Regions from separate parts of the Homo sapiens genome. Here region 2 is linked to region 1. The links are contacts of gene promoters, found by promoter capture Hi-C in blood cells and fetal thymus (Javierre and others, 2016). All regions are on one chromosome and are shown on one strand. The core of a region is centred on a gene start or on the middle of the fragment in contact, and the rest is flanking DNA. Distances in the headings are between cores, read along the strand shown. Region 1 holds the start of LPCAT2 (lysophosphatidylcholine acyltransferase 2). Region 2 overlaps CES1 (carboxylesterase 1).

Region 1 (6,994 bases), core at 3,930-6,429:
CTGTCATCCCAGCACTCTGGGAGGCCAAGGCAGGAGAACTGCTTGAGCGCAGGAGTTTGAGACCAGCCTGGGCAACATAGTGAGACTCTATCTCTACAAAAAAATTTTAAAAAACATTAGCTACACATGACGGCGCATACCTGTAGTCCCAGCTACTGGGGAGGGTGAGCAGAGAGGATCGCTTGAGCCCAGGAGTTTAAGGCTGCAGTGAGCCGTGTTCATGCCGCTGCATTCCAGACTGGGTGACAGAGTGAGACCTGGTCTCAAAAAAAAAGAATGGGGCCTGGTGTTGTTAGATATTCTATATTAGATATTCTAGTTTTTTTAAAGGAAGCCAGAAATCTGTACTTCTGTGTGACTTTTTGGATGTTTACATGTTGGCAAGTTATTCAGATTTAAAGACAAAACAAAACAAACTTGTGAGAGTCAAATAAAACCCATCTGTGGGCCTGACAGGACTGGATATATCCTGTTTTGCCACCTCTGGTACATGGAATGTGCTTAGTTTGATGCTTGTGTTAAGTGGAGTTATTGTTTTTAATAATAGCATATGTTATCTGACTTAATGCTCACTGCAAGCCCTAGAAGGTTGATAATCTTTATCCTCATCTTAGAGATGAGCAAACAGGGAATAAAAGAGCTTATTTCACAGCCATTTCCCTTCTTCCACTCCCAGAGGGGGCTCTTCTGGGCTTTTGTTGTGTTTTGGTTTTGTTTTTGTTTTCTTTTCTTCAATCAGCTCAGATTGAAACAATTGAATTTTTTTTTTTTTTTTTTTGAGACAGAGTCTCCCTCTGTCGCCCAGGCTGGAGTGCAGTGGCGCGATCTTGGCTCACTGCAAGCTCCGCCTACTGGGTTCACACCATTCTCCTGCCTCAGCCTCCCGAGTAGCTGGGACTACAGGCGCCTACCACCACGCCCGGCTAATTTTTTGTATTTTTAGTAGAGACGAGGTTTCACCATGTTAGCCAGGATGGTCTTGATCTCCTGACTTCGTGATCTGCCCGTCTCGGCCTCCCAAAGTGCTGGGATTACAGGCGTGAGCCACCGCGCCCCGCCACAGTTGAGTTTTTTTTTTGGCGGGGGGACAAGGTCTTGCTCTATCACCCAGGCTAGAGGCACAATCATAGCTCACTGCAGCCTCGAACTCCTGGGCTTAAGCGACCCTCCCACGTCAGCCTCCTAAGTAGCTTGGACTACAGGAATGTACCACTATACCCAGCTAATTTAAATATGTTTTTCGTAGAAATGGGGGTCTCTCTATGCTGCCCAAGCTGGTCTCGAACTCCTGGGCTCAAGCAATCCTCCTGCCTCAGCCTTTCAAAGCTCTCTTCTCGTTTAAAAGCTTCTTCCCTATGCCAGGCAGAAATTCAAAGTTCCCAGGAACCTTCTGTGTGCCAGAATGTCAGGATAAGGGGGTCACGGTCTCTTCTTTCTCTATCCCAGGTCACAGCTACTTCTTCAAGGGTGCCTATTACCTGAAGCTGGAGAACCAAAGTCTGAAGAGCGTGAAGTTTGGAAGCATCAAATCCGACTGGCTAGGCTGCTGAGCTGGCCCTGGCTCCCACAGGCCCTTCCTCTCCACTGCCTTCGATACACCGGGCCTGGAGAACTAGAGAAGGACCCGGAGGGGCCTGGCAGCCGTGCCTTCAGCTCTACAGCTAATCAGCATTCTCACTCCTACCTGGTAATTTAAGATTCCAGAGAGTGGCTCCTCCCGGTGCCCAAGAATAGATGCTGACTGTACTCCTCCCAGGCGCCCCTTCCCCCTCCAATCCCACCAACCCTCAGAGCCACCCCTAAAGAGATACTTTGATATTTTCAACGCAGCCCTGCTTTGGGCTGCCCTGGTGCTGCCACACTTCAGGCTCTTCTCCTTTCACAACCTTCTGTGGCTCACAGAACCCTTGGAGCCAATGGAGACTGTCTCAAGAGGGCACTGGTGGCCCGACAGCCTGGCACAGGGCAGTGGGACAGGGCATGGCCAGGTGGCCACTCCAGACCCCTGGCTTTTCACTGCTGGCTGCCTTAGAACCTTTCTTACATTAGCAGTTTGCTTTGTATGCACTTTGTTTTTTTCTTTGGGTCTTGTTTTTTTTTTCCACTTAGAAATTGCATTTCCTGACAGAAGGACTCAGGTTGTCTGAAGTCACTGCACAGTGCATCTCAGCCCACATAGTGATGGTTCCCCTGTTCACTCTACTTAGCATGTCCCTACCGAGTCTCTTCTCCACTGGATGGAGGAAAACCAAGCCGTGGCTTCCCGCTCAGCCCTCCCTGCCCCTCCCTTCAACCATTCCCCATGGGAAATGTCAACAAGTATGAATAAAGACACCTACTGAGTGGCCGTGTTTGCCATCTGTTTTAGCAGAGCCTAGACAAGGGCCACAGACCCAGCCAGAAGCGGAAACTTAAAAAGTCCGAATCTCTGCTCCCTGCAGGGCACAGGTGATGGTGTCTGCTGGAAAGGTCAGAGCTTCCAAAGTAAACAGCAAGAGAACCTCAGGGAGAGTAAGCTCTAGTCCCTCTGTCCTGTAGAAAGAGCCCTGAAGAATCAGCAATTTTGTTGCTTTATTGTGGCATCTGTTCGAGGTTTGCTTCCTCTTTAAGTCTGTTTCTTCATTAGCAATCATATCAGTTTTAATGCTACTACTAACAATGAACAGTAACAATAATATCCCCCTCAATTAATAGAGTGCTTTCTATGTGCAAGGCACTTTTCACGTGTCACCTATTTTAACCTTTCCAACCACATAAATAAAAAAGGCCATTATTAGTTGAATCTTATTGATGAAGAGACTGATGGCTCAAGAGAAGTGATTTTTCCAGGGTCCCATAGCTATTAGGGACCTACAAGGCCAAAGGATAGCCTAGCAGAGGAGCTTTAGCTCTCAAACCAGAATCTCACCACCCTCCGCCACCCTCAAAAACACCCCCACCACCTTCAAAACCGCTCCTGCTACCCTCCACCACCCCCAAAACCACGCTGGGTAAACACAGCTAAGGGAGAAATACTGTGCTTGCTTCTAAACACAGCTGGTATTAATGGATAAGCTCCTTACTCCTTCCTACCAGTCTACCCACTCCTAATCTCCTACATAGAAATTCTGGAGCTACTGCTGAACAGAAATTGAAGGCCTGGGGTTTTTCTGAGGCCCTTTCTGGCTCCGATAGTCTGATTGATAGTATATATATTGCTTCTGGCCTCTTATGATGGGGCTGGTGAGGAAGGTGCGTAAGGAGTGAACTCTACAGGTGACCTCCTCAGTGAGCCTGATGTCATTGTTTCTATCTCTTTTTTCTGTTTTTGAGATGGAGTCTCACTCTGTCACCCAGGCTGGAGTGCAATGGCGCAATCTCGGCTCACTGTAACCTCTGCCTCCCAGGTTTAAGTGATTCTCCTGCCTCAGCCTCCCAAGTAGCTGGGATTACAGGTGCACGCCACCATACCCAGCTAATTTGTTTTGTATTTTGGTAGAGACAGGTATCACCGTGTTGCCCAGGCTGGTCTCGAACTCCTGAGATCAGGCAATCCACCCATCTCGGCCTCCCAAAGTGCTAGGATTATTGGTGTGAGCCACCACTCTCGGCCCCATCTTTTCTATCTTTTATCCTCCCATGGCCTGTCCCCTTGACTCAGATTCTTTTTGTTTCTTCTTCTTCTTTTTTTTTCTTTTTTGAGACAGTGTCTTTCTCTGTCACCCAGGCTGGAGTGCAATGGCATGATCATAGCTCACTGCAGACTTGATCTTCTGGGCTCAAGCAATCCTCCCACTTCAGCCTCCTGAGTAGCTGGGACTGCAGGCATGCAACAGCACAGCCAGCTAATTTTTAATTTTTTTTAGAGATGGTGGAGTCTCTCTTTGTTGCCCAGGCTGGTCTCGAACTCCTGGGCTCAAGGGATCCACCCTCCTCAGCCCCCAAAGTGCTAGGATTACAGGCGTGAGCCACTGCACCTGGCCTGGCTTAGGTTGTTGACAGTTGGAAAGACATCTTTCTGTGCAGGTATCTGGCTAAAGAGTCTCAAGGGTCTGCCAGTCCCAACTTGAAGACCCCCTAGACTGGGGAATCTTCTATCATGGCTGTAATGCACTGTTATTAATGTTCCCTGTTACACTGAGAGAAAAGTCAGTGGCTCCACAACATAATAATGCTTAAAACATGCCATTTCTTCAGTGTTTCTCTATGAACACTACACATGCATTATTTTATTTAATCCTTGCTACAATTCTATGGAGTTAGAATGAATCTCCCATTCCTAGACAAGGAAGCAAACTCAGGTTAAGTGACTGACTCAAGGCCACACATCTATGTGGTAGGGCTGGAAGATTCTGACATTCAGAGGGTAACTTTGGAGAACCCCAGGGCTCAGACTCAGATTTTCATCCTGGCCTTCCTACCTGCTGTGAGAAGAGTTGATCAGTTGGGATGAGTTGATTATCATCTCCTTCCTTTAACTCTCAGCCACTCAGGGTTGATCAACTGTCCTCAGATAATGGGACAAACCCCTGCCCTCCCACCCCCACGAGCACCCACATAGGTCCAAACAGGCTTGAACTTCCTCAGTGTGAAAGGGAGCCACAGCCCAATACATTTCCCTTTTCTGGGTCAGGTTCCTCATCTAGCGTGGAGGGCAACTGTAATTTTTGCCTTTTCTGGTAATAGTAGCTCAGTTTTCCTCTGGAGAACCATCTCTCCCCTGTCAGTCCATTATGTTTTGAGTGAAACAAATTCCACTCCTAGTGCCATCATGGGTGTATTAATATTAGCTCACTTAATGGAACAGCCCAGGGGAAGTGGTTGCTCAATGGCATTACTGGATCCAGGTTAGGATTATCTGAGAATACATTTATCTGCATTTTACGGAAGGCAACCGAGGTTCATAGAGATAGTGATTTGGCCAGCGTCACAGGCCCAGTAAAAGGGATTGAAAATCCAGGTCCGTCCGACCCTAAAGCAGGGAACTCTGCCTAGTGTCTCGCTGTGGAATGTTAGGGATCCTGGGGTACCCTTCAGGGTCTTGGCTCGGAAGGAAAACATTCCCCTCCGAGGGGATGGACTATATTACCAAGGGGGTGGAGCCAGATGCCTGAGGGGGTGTGGCCAGAGCCTGGGGCGTGTCACAGCCGAAGGGGCAGGGCGGCAGCAGCAGGCGTCTAAGTAACTTCAGCGCCTGCGCAGAGGCTCCCCAGCGTCGCCCTAGGCTGGGACTCTAGTAGGTCTTCGGCTCAGTTTTGGCTGCAGCGCCCGCGTAGATCGCTTCGGCCGGGTTCTACGCCCGGCTCAACTATGAGCCGGTGCGCCCAGGCGGCGGAAGTGGCGGCCACAGTGCCAGGTGCCGGCGTCGGGAACGTGGGGCTGCGGCCGCCCATGGTGCCCCGTCAGGCGTCCTTCTTCCCGCCGCCGGTGCCGAACCCCTTCGTGCAGCAGACGCAGATCGGCTCCGCGAGGCGGGTCCAGGTGAGGGGCGTGGGTCTGAGGGGAGAGGTGGTCTGAGGGGGGCCTAGGTCAGAGGGGGGTCCAGGTAAGGGGTGTGGGTCTGAGAGAGGAGGGCGGCCGAGGGGGGCGTGGGTCTGAGGGAGTGAGGTGGTCCGAGGCGGGCGAGAGTCTGAGGAGGGAGGTGGCCTGAAGGGGGCATGGGTCTGAGGAGGGAGGTGGCCCGAGGGGAGCCAGGGTCTGGGGCGGGTCCAGGTGACTGGTGTAGGTCTGACGGGGGAGGGCGGTCGAGGGGCGCGTGGGTCTGAGGGGCGTTGTGGGTCTGGGAAGCAAAGGCATCAGAGGAAGAAAGAGCAGTGGATCTGAGAGGAGAGGACTTCTGAGGGGCCGTGAGCCTGAAAGGGGCGGAGATGTGTGTCTGAGAATTGAGGACATTTAGAGGATGGTCTGAGCGGGCACGGGAGGAGAGAAGATGCTGGGAAGATGCGGGCCTGAGAGGAGAATCCAAAACAGGAAGAGACTGAGCTGGCTGGTGGCGCAGGCTACATTCCATGCCCCAGAAGGTTGAAGGAATCTGTGAATCTGTGACAGAAGCTTCAACTTGAGTTTATGAGAGTGTAGTGGGAGGCAGATCTACTACGGGAGAGTAGATTTGAAGAAGTCTTTTTTTTTTTTTTTTTGCCTTAGGAAGGAGAGGAGTCAGTATGGGATGGATAAGAGTGAGGCAGAAGGCAGAGAGCCTAGGTCTGTGGTTAGAACAACAGGTAAGGCTGGAAAGATTTAGCTGAGCAGGAGCATGATGGAGGGTGGGAAGTCAGAATCAAAGAAAAGGGACAACTGAGTCAGCTTAGGATGTTCAAGAAGTTTTGGTCCAGAATCAGTCTTCACCTAAAAACGTTTCCTAAGTTGAAGCATGAGAAGTAGTAGCCCAGGCTGTTTTCCATTGTTAAAAATGGCTATACTGTTATGCACAAAGGAAGTTTCCTTTCCTTTCCTTTTTCTTGTAAAGGGTTCCTTTTACCATTGGCAGTTGCACTCTTTGGACTTCCTCTTTGTTGAAGTTAGTGATCAGAGAACAAGATAGACCCTGCTAACCACATTTGTCCGTGTGTTCTGCGGGGGTTGGGGGGGTGGGGGAACAATTTTGAAGTTTTCATGTCCATCTCACACATTACTTTGGATTTGAAGCAGTATAATATTTGCAATCAGCTTGTATGCACTAAGACCATTGTCCTCTACAGTGGGGGAAGGTTAAGTGCAGAGCTAAACAACACAGGTGGTGGCTTGAGTAATGGTAGATGGGTGTCTGGTTGAAGAGGGGTGTGAGAGAGGAAGAAGATAAAGAATGTAGTAATACTGCTTTGTGAGGAAATTAAACGTTTAAAAATGTGATCCTCATGTCTTTAAATTAATAGATATTCTTTTTGTGTCTTCACATTCTGAAACATTTGTAAATACATAGACCATTGTTCAAGATTAAATTTAGTCTGATTTAATTAAATCATACTTAAATGAAAATATGCCCATCTATTTGACTTCATATTTTGGAAAGAAACAG
Region 2 (7,209 bases), core at 4,332-6,831, 320 kb after region 1:
ACTCACAAGAACAGAGACACTTTCTCCTCCCGCTGACTCTCCAAAGATGGTCACAGAGCCTGGGTTCCCTCCAAAGCTGGCAATGTTGTCCTGGACCCAGCGCAGGGCAGCCACCTGGTCCAGGTGACCCCAGTTCCCCCGGCTGTGTTCATCCCCTGTGCTGTGAGGAAGAGAACAGGTTGAGGGTGGGGAGCAGAGATGTCATGCAGGACCTTCAGGACCACAGATGGGGCTAGGGGTTCTCAGTGAACCCTTAAGAATAAGGCTGGGCTTCAGCATCTCTGAGACCCTGCTTTCATTAGTACAGCATTGTGGTGATGTATGGTTCTACATTCACACAACTGGCAACTATTTACTGAGCATCTACTGTATGCCTGACGCTGTCTTATGAGCTAGAGCACATCTGAGAGCAAAACAGGCAAAACCTGTGATGACACTGAATTCCCACTACAGATCACAAGCAGATAAACAGATACATAGAGAGAATATAATGATGTCAGGTAGTCAAAGTGCACTGAGGTAAATACAATGGAGTAAGGAAAAAAACAGGAGTGGGACAGGGGGTGCCATTTCAGATCCCAATCAGGGAAGGCTTTTTGGAGGCAGTGACATTTGAGGTTTTGGAGGCAAAGACCTTCATAAAACAAGCACAATGAGCACATGAACCTTGTAAATATCCAAAGAAAGGAATTCCAGGCAGAAGAAAAAGCAAGTGCAAAGGGCCTGGGGCCCAGTGAAAGAAAGTGTGAGTCAGGAGGTGCAGCTAGAGAGGGCCCTGGGGCCTGGCAAGAACTTCGGCTGTCATGGTAAGGAGCATGGGAAGCCCCTGCAGGGTTTTGTGCAGAGGCATCGCATGATTCAATGCATGTGTTAAGTGATCACTCTGGCTACTGTGCAACTCAGCTTTATATAAAAGTGGCAGGGATCTGAAAGTGTTAAAGATCATAATCAAGGTGACAGACAGAGAGCTTTGGCTGGGCTAGGAGCCAGGGAAGAGGTGCAAAGTAGGGGACTCTGAGTGGATTCTGAAGGCGCAGCCAAGAGGGTTGTGAGAAAAGAGACAGTCCGGGCTGTCCACAAGGCCTTCTCCTGAGCCCAAGGGAGGATGTGGCAGCAGAAGCTGAGTGGAGGCGTGGTGGGAGGAGAAGGGGGTCTCTGTTGGGGAGGGGCAGTGGGAGTCAAGGATTCAACTTGTCCCTGGGAAGAGTGGGGCACCCTTTAGACAGCCAGGGGTGGGGAGGAGGGAGTGAGTGATGCCTGTGGGCTTCAAAGGTGAGGTGGGCTGGAAACAGGGGCTCTGGCTGCTCCCTGGGATCACTGGGAATTAGTAAGGAGGGAGAGGGAGACAAGAGAGGCCTGTGGACAGGGAGGAGGGAGGACCAGGAAAGGGGCTGGGAAGGAAGCATGTCACAGAGGCTGAGTGGCCATCTGCTGCTGCTGGGAAGTCCTGAGAGGTTGGGTGGAGAGCAGGGGGAGGTCATTGATGACCGCAATGAGACCAACTGAGTGGCGTGTTCAGGAAGAAACCTGACTGGCATGGATGGAGGAGAACCTTAGAAAAGGTTCATAGCAGTTGCGCCTTGAAGGAGATCTGACTCCTGTCCCCATGGAGACCTGATGGGAAGACTCCATCCTTGCTTCCCACACTTGCCAAATTTCAAGCAGAAAATGAGCTGAGTGGGTCCCAACACTCCCACAGGAAGGGGTCAGATGCTCCCACACCCCACCATCTGCAGCCCCCATTCCTTCACCCACAACATGCCCTGAGCTCCCTCTGTGACTCTGCCCCTTCCCTCCTTTCCATGAGAAGTCAGATGTGTCAACCTTCACCTGCTGGGCTGACTGCTAAGTGTCATGACAGAGAAAAGCAATGTGCTGGAGAAACATAGGTGAAGAGGAGATGAGTCTTTCAGTGGAGGTAACTGGGGGCTGGGTCTTGCAGGATGAAGAGGTGTTCTTCGGATAGAATAAGCATTCCAGGCAGAGGGAACAGCACATGCAAAAGCTCAGAGGCAAGTGGATGAGTGGCTGGGTAGTGAGAGGGTAGGTAGTGTCCAATTACGAAGGGGCTTGGATGCCTTACTGTGGAACCTAGCTAAGCTCCCCTGAGGGCTGGCATGACAAGAGCTGGGTCCTAGCATCCTCGTTCTGGGGGCCAAAGTGCAGTGAGGAGAGTCCGATTTCTTACCTGAAGAATCCCCAGATGCCCAGGCGATATTGAATGGTCACCACCACCACGTTTTCATGGGCAGCAAGGGCCAGCCCATCATAGGTTGATGCCGCACCCACCATCAGCCCCCCTCCGTGGATCCACACCATCACCTGGGCAGAGAGGAAGCAACATACCAGTTACAGGACACAGAGCCAGGGAGCACTCAGAAGATGTCTTGTTTGGTGACCTACCTGTTGGTTACAACTGAAGGAGGATGCTATCCAAAGTTCACCAGCTCCCAGCAACTTTGCAAAAGGCAATCTCTCTCCTGCATAATTCTCCCAACTGGGACCCAAGCCACCACCCTACTGCACATACCCTGGCTGTCCCTTCCTTTCTACCCAGCCTCCAGTGCCTCCTCCCCGAAAGGCTCTTGATGCTGAGAACATCATCATGGGCATAGCAAAGGCTAAGGATGTCCTCTTCGGGAGGACACTCCCATCACCCTCAAGCCTAGACTATTCATGCACTCAGCGTACCCATGGGGCAGCCCTTGTATCTCAGCTTCATCTCAGTTAACTATCTCTTGGTGAAGTAAACTTCTCTGTGCATGAATGATTGTCTCGAGAAGCACACGTGCCTGTGATGGTGTCTCTTCCTCAAATGCCTCCTTATGCCTCTGCATCCCCAAATCCTATCCACCCTGCAGAACCCAGCCTAAAACCCACCCACTTCAGGATGCCTTCAGTCAATGGACTAACACTGTCGAGAACTTAGCATGTGCCAGGGACTCTGCTAATACTGGAGGATGAGAGTGGATACAATTCCTCATGCATGATTCTTGCATTTTAAAAGTCCACATAGTGGGGAAGAAGTGAGAGTGGCTAAAATAATGATATTGTAATAATATTATTCATGAAATATAAAAGAACTCGTAACATAAACTATGTCCCAAGTGCTGTTCTAAGCACAGTAAAATAAACTATACATTGGGTAGGTACTAATAATGTCCCATTATCCAGGTGGGAAAATGGAGGCACTTAACCTGCCCAAGGTCCTACAACTCAAAAGTGGTAGCAGCAGGACTTTAACCCAGGCAGTCTGCCTCCAGAGTCCACATGTTGAGCTGCCCAGCACACTGCAGGCGCCGGCCACAGTGCAGTGAGTCCACTGTTAGGGCAGGGGTATGAGCCTGCCTCTGCCTTTTTAGCCAGGGACTGAGATCACGCTTAGTGGTCACCCTTGACTGATCATATGTGATGATTCCCATTTTGAGGAAACAGAGGCTTAGAGAAGTTAAGAAACTCCCAAGTCTCTCAGCTAGTCAAAAGCAGAACCAGGATTTAAACCCAGACCGTGTAGTTCTAGAGCCTGTGGCCATTCCTGGAGGTTCTCCTGACTCCAGGTTCCCAGAGCCCTTGTTTCTCCCACAACTCTAATCCCTGCCTGCCTCCTGGGGAGGGATTGAGTGTGCATTCATCTTTGTGTGAAGACTGAGCCTGAGGGCTGGCCTGCAATAAAGTGCTGAAGGGAGGATATGTCTCTACAGCCCAGAAGGCAAGATCCTTGAAGGCAGGGGCTGTGTGGAGTGGATTCATGTTCCTCCTTTCCCTGAAGCCCCAGGTCTAACTGTGTATATGGGGCACTGAGTACACAATAGAAGAATGAATGAATGAATGAATGAATGAATGAATGAATGAGTAAACCTTTCTCTCACTTCCTGTGTCTCACAAAGCACATGTAGGACCAACTTCTAGTTCCACGTTCGCAGACCTGCTCCCCCACTCCTAGGCACCATGCCACGGTGCCCCTGGGAGACTGGCTAGACACAACACCCCTTGTTTTTTCACCCTGGGTGCCTCCTTTGCCAGCAGACCCTCCCCACCCTCCAACCTGCAGCTGGCGGGCTGCCCCATGTCCTGCCCTTCATTTATTTGGGAAATTCTGACTCACTGGGTCATCAGCCTTTGCCAAGACAATTAGGGAGGGAAATTAGGTACAAAAAGAAATCCCAGCTATTTGGCCAAAGGCAAAAGGAAGAGCTTCTGGGATTGTCCAGGCTCCGCCCCCAACATCCGTACCTGGACAGTGAAAGTTACCCCAGATGAATGTTGCTGTGCTGGAGAAAGGCCACATACAAGCTCAATGCCCTACTCCATGTCAAAAGCACTGATGTGAAGATCAGAAGACTTGAGCCAAAACTACCCTACTGGGTGACCTCCCCTTCCCTGTCTGGGCCTCAGTTTCTCTATTTGAAAAGGAAGAGTTGGGGTGTTGGCTTTTCTCTAAGTTCTTTCCACCACTAACATTGAAAATCATGTCTTACCCAATCTTGGTATCAGATTTTTAATCTAGTAACTAAAAGTAATCATTCTCATCCTTCTATTAGCATGAGGGAACTTGGAACAATTAAGATGTTCATTAAAGATGCAAAACAAACTCCCCCAGAGTGCCTATGTCACGAGGGTAAACTGATGTGTGGAAAACCAGTGTTTCCTGTGGAGGCCCTGGGGTCTCTGAAACAATCCTGGCCTGTGCAGCTCCCTCCCCAAGCTGCCTTCACTCCCTTCCATTCTGCCCCAGAAGATGCGGGGTACTGGCACTGACACGCCTTGACCAGGGGGTCCCACAACTTACCGGCAGCCTGTTTTTCTTGGTCAAGTCAGCAGGAGTGTAAATATTGAGGTAAAGACAGTCTTCAGAAAGCTTGAGAGGAATGTTCTCCTTTCGGTTTGTAAATAGCTCTGAGAGTAACTGCCCCGCCTTGGGATCTTGGGTGCACCTGGGGAGGGGGAAAGAAGAACCCCTGAAGTTCAGCCAGATCTAAGCGAGGTGTTTTCTACGGCAGCGCCTTGGACTGGGAGGTTTAAGCCTGGAAATGGACTTGATAGTTACAGACTCACGACATTGTAGTGGGTAGGAGGCTATCAGGGGCTTCAGGTGGGGGCGCTGGGACTCACTAAGGTCTCCTAAGACCAAGCAGAGTGAGAAGGGCTTCACACCTCTTCCCTTTCCAGAGCCTTTGGAACTCCCAGCATCAAGGAGGGGAGACCACTAATACACTGATCCTCCCTGGGAGGTGACATTTCTCACAATAGCTCAGGGGTGATATCTTTGTGGGACAACATCAGGAGAATTGTGCTCTAGTTTTGTCTCTCCCATGCATTTATGGGGTGACCTTGGGTGAATTCCTTTTACACTCTGCGTCCCAATCCGCCAGGTCTAAGTGAGCGGAGTGATTTCTACATGAGTCTTGCAGCCCTGACATGCCAAGATTCTACCACCTGCCTCTCCCAGGCAGTTGCTGTTGTGTTGCCCTGATGAAAGATCTCAAGGATGCAACATAGATGAACACTGGTAATAGTTATTTAGTTCTCCCAGTGTTCCAGGCACTGTTTTAAGTACCTTTTGTATATTAACTCATTTAAGCCTCAGACTAGTCCCATTAGGTAGGTTCTATTATCTCCATTTTACAGATGAGAAAACTGAAGCCTAGGCAGGTTAGAGAACCTGACCAAGGTTACATAGCCAGGTAGATCCATGCCATGTGGTGCTTATACACAAGTATATTATAAGCAACAGTCCCAGACCTCAATGTACCAAAAGGCAGTCATCACCGCCCCCACTAGGTACATGAGGAAACTGAGGCACTCAGACTCTGGGATGACACAGCTCTCAAGTGACAGAATCAGAGCCAGCAAAGATGACTTCTTGATTCCATCCTGGGAAATTTTCCTAAGATCACCAAGTGCAAGAGGAATAACAATAATAATAATAATAATAATAATAATAATACATTCCAATGTGAAGAAAGGAAAAAAGAACTCACTGGTCTTCAGATAAATGCAAATTAAAGAGGAAAATAATATTGCTGGTATTGTTATTATTATTTTGCCTATACAATAGCCAAAAATATTTTTAATAATCCCAAGCATTGCCAAGAGTCTGCCAAATGGAGATGTTCATACGTCAATGGGAGGAGTGTAGTTGGAATATTTTGGGAGGGAAATCAAACAAGAAATATATACTCTTTGACTCAGAAATGTCATTTCTGAGAAGTTATCCTAAACTATTCATGAATGTGCATAAATGTTTCACATTCATGATGTTATATTATTAAAAACATCATATATAACTTAATGACCCCAAATAAAAGCTTGGGGAAATTAATTATGGTTCAATACCCAATGTAATGCAGCTTTTAATACCAGGCTGTGCTATTTAATGGCATGGAATTATGCTCATGATATACTTATAAATGAGCAAAGCAGGCATCCAAATTATCTCAATATAGCATTCCCTTTTAAAGAAAGAAAGTATATCAACAGGCAAAAAAACTGGAATACAAACAATATATTACATCATAATACTTTACCATCTAAAATACTGATAGTTGTTCTCTCTGGGTGGTGGAATATTGTATGTGATCTTAATTTTCTTACTTTCCTTTCTCTGTATTTCCTAAATTTTCTGTAATAAGTATATATTACATTTGCACTCAGAAAATAAAAACAGTAAACATTATTTTTTAAAAAAGGGAAGAAAAGAAGGCGGCCACTGGTGGGCTGCTGGAAAGCCTCCGAACACCTGGCTGCTGAGATGAGCAGGGTCTGCTCTGATGTCTGTAGGGTCCTTCCTACCCTGGGGAGTGATGGTGAGGCCAATTAGAACCTTTGGGCTTTTCTTCCCAGCTTGGCCAGGGTGAATGGACACACCTTCCATTGTTCTCCTCAGGAATAGGCACACCTGAGAGTTGAGCACTTGCCGAGTGGACACCTCAGTACACTTGCCACCCACACACCTCCTGGCCCACTCCTCTCCCCGACTATGTCAAAATTCAAGACAGCAGAATTCATGGGATCCTTCCTTCTGATCTCCCTCACCTGCTTAACTGCTTCTTTGTTTCCAAGGCACTTTTCCTGTTCTATCATATCACATAATCCACGGAGTAATTTGCATATTGTTCTTATCTGTCTCCCCCTGCTAGAATGCACGCTCCAGGAACCTAGGGATCTTTGCTTTTTCACTAATGGATCCCAAGAACCCAGAACACGCCT

The links. Contacts are between HindIII fragments. The CHiCAGO score rates a contact against its expected background, and 5 or more counts as called.
Region 2: a contact is called between a fragment that was not itself captured here and the fragment with the promoter of LPCAT2 in region 1, in 1 of 17 cell types (monocytes). The highest score is 6.1, in monocytes.

What each region holds. Positions count from the first base shown.
Region 1 is chr16:55,503,893-55,510,886 of GRCh38, forward strand. LPCAT2 (lysophosphatidylcholine acyltransferase 2) reads left to right here and starts at 5,180. Exons shown (of 14, transcript NM_017839.5): 1 at 5,180-5,460. The coding sequence starts at 5,290. It overlaps MMP2 (matrix metallopeptidase 2), which reads left to right. Exons shown (of 13, transcript NM_004530.6): 13 at 1,447-2,799. The coding sequence ends at 1,550. The HindIII fragment of the contact is 4,685 bases long and covers 1,344-6,028 here.
Region 2 is chr16:55,821,362-55,828,570 of GRCh38, forward strand. It overlaps CES1 (carboxylesterase 1), which reads right to left. Exons shown (of 14, transcript NM_001025195.2): 3 at 4,790-4,934; 4 at 2,189-2,322; 5 at 7-160. Among named protein-coding and RNA genes, the nearest start is that of CES1, 8.1 kb to the right of the region's middle. The HindIII fragment of the contact is 1,450 bases long and covers 4,857-6,306 here.